Regions from separate parts of the Homo sapiens genome. Here region 2 is linked to region 1. The links are contacts of gene promoters, found by promoter capture Hi-C in human tissues and cell types (Jung and others, 2019). All regions are on one chromosome and are shown on one strand. Each heading gives the region's core, a stretch centred on a gene start or on the middle of the fragment in contact. The rest is flanking DNA. Distances are from core to core; before and after follow the strand shown.

The links. Contacts are between HindIII fragments. The study calls those that stand out against the background at their distance.
Region 2: a fragment that was not itself captured here is called in contact with the fragment with the promoter of HGF in region 1 in 1 of the 25 tissues and cell types used here (mesenchymal stem cells).

The regions. Positions count from the first base shown.
Region 1 is chr7:81,768,779-81,771,502 of GRCh38, reverse strand. It overlaps HGF (hepatocyte growth factor), which reads left to right and starts at 1,456. Exons shown (of 18, transcript NM_000601.6): 1 at 1,456-1,619. The coding sequence starts at 1,532. The HindIII fragment of the contact is 8,838 bases long and covers 1-2,724 here.
Region 2 is chr7:81,510,439-81,513,138 of GRCh38, reverse strand. No RefSeq gene overlaps it. Among named protein-coding and RNA genes, the nearest start is that of HGF, 260 kb to the left of the region's middle. The HindIII fragment of the contact is 4,651 bases long and covers 1-2,700 here.

The DNA of each region.
Region 1 (2,724 bases), core at 207-2,706:
GTATGTGGAGGGAAGGCTGTTCTGTGGATGAGTTTAATTCAGCCCCACAATCACTTCTGTACAGCTACCCACCGCTCTAGTCATTCCCACATTTGGCCTGCTTTCTTTTCCTCTGTGGACAGGGGCACTGTTCTCTACTAATATCCATCTCAGAGAGATACAGGGGCAAGTATCCCTCAGCATCCATTAGAAATAAAGCAGGCTCTTGCTTAAAGTTACCAGAGCATCCACCTCTGGGTGCAAAGACAAATTCTCTGAATCAAGTGAGGGGTCTGGGCAATGATCTCACAAGGATTTGATACCTAGGAGTCCCCCCATGCCCATACAAGCTCCTCATCTTTCCACTTACACTTTGGGAAGCTGGCTGTCGTGTACAGGCAGATGAAGCTGGAAAAGAGAGGCATATTCAGTACTCACGAATTCAAACAGCTTGAGGGATTTCCGGTGAAAGTCAGTCCTAACCAGTGTATACGTACATACACACCAACATGTGTGAATGTGTTGTGTGCACGTGTGTGCCTGTACAAGTCCACATGGCATATTTACCTGTCAGGGACAGGCTATGGACAATGACTGTTTCTTGGACTTTCTCTTAAAAAGTCAGATCAGACAAGTTTATTTTGTATACTTTGGGTAAATGTGTGGTATTTCGTGAGTTTGGCAGTTTGTGAAAAAAAAAAAAAAAAAAAAAAAAAAAAAAAGCTGCCTGCTCTGAGCCCATGGGGCAGGGGCAATTTTTTCATCTGACAATCTGCGTGCTTTTGTTTTGCTTGCTTATTTTGGCCCCACAATACCACACCCTTTTCTTAACTAACCTCTTTCTACCTGGGCTGGACGTGCCTGGGCTCTCCTCCCTGGCCCCGCTCCCACCTCTCCCAGGTCTCTAAACCCCTAGAGAACCTGTGTCAGTGTTTTGAATCCCTCAGTTGCTCTAGCAGGAAAACTAGACAGATTAGGAGCTGGGGCACATTTGGCTGAAAGACAGCTCTTCGCTTTCTTCTTATGCTGCTTCCCCTTCCTCTTTTCCCAAATAGATATATAAACACATGTATTTTCCTGTTTAAATTGAGCGAATTGGTCCCCTGCCTGTGCCTTGATTTAGCCATTGGGCTCAGCCTTGCTCCTCCCTTCCTTACTCGGATAGGAGCCACTGGGATCTGGAGCTCCAGCTTCCAAATTGAAGCTGGCCTCAGGCCAGGTGACCTTTTCTTTGTAAGTTTCTTTCCTAAGCGTGGGGTTGGGGGGAGGCGGGGAATGGGGGGGGTTGCAGGGATCTGTTTGGTGCTGTTGAAGGGGGGGCGAGTGAGGAAAGGAGGGGGCTGGAAGAGAGTAAAGGGCTGTTGTTAAACAGTTTCTTACCGTAAGAGGGAGTTCAGACCTAGATCTTTCCAGTTAATCACACAACAAACTTAGCTCATCGCAATAAAAAGCAGCTCAGAGCCGACTGGCTCTTTTAGGCACTGACTCCGAACAGGATTCTTTCACCCAGGCATCTCCTCCAGAGGGATCCGCCAGCCCGTCCAGCAGCACCATGTGGGTGACCAAACTCCTGCCAGCCCTGCTGCTGCAGCATGTCCTCCTGCATCTCCTCCTGCTCCCCATCGCCATCCCCTATGCAGGTTAGTTCCCTTCTTCTTCTTCATTATTAGTATTAGTATTTAACTCTCCTGCTAACCTTCCCTATTCCTTTTAACACCCTCTTTTTACCCTATTCCCAGCATCCTTTCTGAACTCAGTATGTAGTATAGGTTTCTAAAAGCTCTCATTATGCTTTTTTTGACATTCTTTTTTGTTGTTGTTTGAATAGCATTTAAAATGATAATTAACTTTCCCTCAACTCCCCTCCACCTCCAACCCAAGCCCCGTCCCACTTAGCCTAATAGTTGTGGATTATGAGATAGGGAGGAAGTGCTAATACTGGCTGAACTTGGCTGCTTTGGACAAGTTTAAAGCTAAAGAGAGGGTCTGGTCTGAAGAGGCAAGAGTGATGGTCAGTCCGGCAGGAAGTCATCCTTTTCCAGAGAACAATTTTTCATGATAATGCACTACTCCACATCACCTAGTCAACATTTGGAGCCAAATTACGACTTTGTACAGGTTTTCATTTTGAGGAGGCAGAATAAACTCTGAGTATTTGCATATCATAAAAATGAAAGAGAAAGCCTCTTTTTAAAGATCTTATTCTTTCTGGGTACGGATGCCTGCCCTTTGAAACTGCAGTGCACGGAGACTTTGATTAAAGCTGCAGAACTGCCCATCTCTGTCTCCCACTTTCTCCCTTGGATTTGCCGTTTGGGGAGGAGTTGCTTGAAAGTTCATATTGCTTGGAGATTTAGAGATCTCGTTTGCTGCTCTGGGAAGTTTCTCTTGTTATCAGGGCAAGAGGAAACATCTGTATTTTGTTGTATCATTGTAGAGGCTGAGGTGCCAACGGGAGAAGGCAGTGAATATCAAGGGTAGGCGCAGGGGAATAAAAGAGTGGGAACAAATGCCCAGATGGAGACATGGCCTTTTTACAATATAAAAAAGAGAACTGGCTGTATCTTTTGAGATGGTAAATATGACATTTATCAGACCTTTGATCTAGTTTTTGATATGGTACAAGGGTTAAAAAACTCAAGAATTTTCTAAATGCAAAGGAAAATCATTCAACCCACCTGGTTTTCTTTTATTTTGTGAAGTGGCCCGTTTGGAAAATGACACTGTTTGGAAAGGGTCACTCTG
Region 2 (2,700 bases), core at 113-2,612, 260 kb after region 1:
GATGTTTGTCAAAATGAAACTACAGAGCAATGGTAAAAAGATGAGAGTTTCAAGAAATTATACTGGGCAACTGATATGCATATAGACATAGTAGAAACAATCCCCTATAAATCAAGTCTAAATGCATTATAGACATAAAATGGCAATAATAAATAAAATAACTATACTTTAGAAAGAATTTAAGAGACTACCTTATTAATTTTGTAATAGGGAAAGATTTCATAAATAAGACAACACAAAACTAGAATAAGAAAAAAAATTAGAAAATTGAATACTTTAGAATTAAGAACTTCTTACGGATGAAAGGATAGGATGTCTAACCTTTGGATTAAAATAATTTGGGGTGGAGAGGAGTAAGAAAGAATAAAGATTAAATAAAACAGTATACATTGACAACTATTGGTATTGTATGATGGCTATCTGGTGGATTATTGTAATATTTTTATACTTTTGTGTATGTGTTAGGTATCATAAAAAGTAGTTGTAAAATAATTGAAAGGAAAATAATCTGAGATGCCCATGAACTTTGTAAAACTATTAGTATTTAATATGGTAAAGTGCTCCTCAAATTACCCTCACAGATAAAATATTCTCACTTATTTAGTGCTTCACTAAAACTGTGTTATCTGCTTTAGAGCTTTTAGTCATACATTTTATATAGTTAAACTCTATAATTTATTATTTAAATCATGAATATTCTCCTGGTCATCAGCAAAATGCTTCTGAGTCCTGCTCCCCACTCCATGGCATATGACAATATAACTTTCTTTCATATTCCACAAATATATATTAAAATTGTTTGATAAGTCAGGTAAATATTGCCTAAGACTAAGTTATATTGTCAGTGATATTGTAAGGTATTATCGTAGAATTTCAAACAGTTAAAAAATGTTGTTTTTCATTTCTGGCTCAACATGAACCTCATCTCTTTAATTTTGAGTCAATTTTCTCTGCTATAATAGATCTTGCTCCTTTGGGAGAGATCATATTTAGCCTGTATCATCGAGGAAAAAAAAGTTCCTAATTTATGTTAACACATGGATTTCCATCATTCAGTTTCCCAATTAGTAAAGCAAAATCTAGCAAAGCAGAAGACATTGTAATAAAACATTATAGATAAACAAATTTTGCAACAAGATGTGAAAGGATTCTAAAATTTGTAGTTGAGCTAAGGGGTATTCTAATCTATATACTTCCTTTAGTAATCTACATTAGGCTTGCTAAAAGAGGCAAACCAATTAATACTGTCTTGAAATGATTACCAACCTGTGACTTATGAATTTATTACCAAAGACTGTAGCAAATGGTCCATCTTTTCTCCATAACCAGTATCAGCTTTTATATTTATATGTGTACTAATATAATACGCACATCTCTGCAGGGAGACATATGTGCAAAAAGTGTAACCAAACCAGAAGTAACCTTAGAAATTCTGTGTTTCAACTAATTCATTGTGTAAGAAGGGAAAATGATATGCAGATAGGTTATCACTTACATTTGCTTGAGAGTGAGTAAACACACAAACACACCTATATATTTTACGATAGCCTTTAAAAAACTAATATTTCTAAACATTTGTTAAATGCAGCGTTGACTAGCCATTATTTATATTTGGGTACATGTATTAGTCTGTTTTCACGCTGCTGATAAAGACATACCCGTGACTGGGAAGAAAAAGAGGTTTAATTGGACTTACAGTTCCACATGGCTGTGGAGGTCTCAGAATCATGGCGGGAGGTGAAAAGCACTTCTTACGTGTTGGCAGCAAGAGAAAATGAGGAAGAAGCAAAAGTGGAAGCCCCTGATAAACCCATCAGATCTGGTGAGACTTATTCACTATCACGAGAATAGCACAGGAAAGACCAGCCCCCATGATTCAATTACCTCCCCCTGGGTTCCTCCCCCAACAAGTGGAAATTCTGGGAGATACAATTCAAGTTGAGATTTGGGTGGGAACAGAGCCAAACCATATCATTCCGCCCCTGGACCCACCAAATCTCATCTCCTCACATTTTAAAACCAATCATGCCTTCCCAACTGTCCCCTAAAGTCTTAGCTCATTTCAGCATTAACCCAAAATTTCATAGTCCAAAGTCTCATCTGAGACAAAGCAAGTCCCTTTCCGCCTACGAGCCTGTAAAATCAAAAGCAAGCTAGTTACTTCCTAGATATAATGGGGGTACAGGTATTGGGTAAATACAGCCATTCCACATGGGAGAAATTGGCCAAAACAAAGGGGTTAAAGGGCCTATCCAAGTCTGAAATCCAGCGGGGCAGTCAAATTTTAAAGCTTTAAAATGATCTCCTTTGACTCCAGGTCTCACATCCAAGTCACACTGATCCAAGAGATGGGTTCTCATGGTCTTTGGCAGCTCCACCCCTGTGATTTTGCAGGGTACAGCCTCCCTCGTGGCTGTTTTTGTGGGCTGGTATTAAGTGTCTGTGCCTTTTCCAGGTGCACGGTGCAAGCTGTCTGTGGATCTAACATTCTGGGGTCTGGAGGATGGTGGCCCTCTTCTCACAGCTCCACTAGGCAGTGCCCCAGCAGACACTCTGTGTGAGGGCTCTGACCCCACATTTCCCTTCTGCACTGCCCTAGCAGAGGTTCTCCATGAGGGCCCTGCCTCTGCAGCAAACTTTTGCCTAGACATCCAGGCATTTCCACACATCTGAAATCTAGGCGGGGGTTCTCAAACCTCA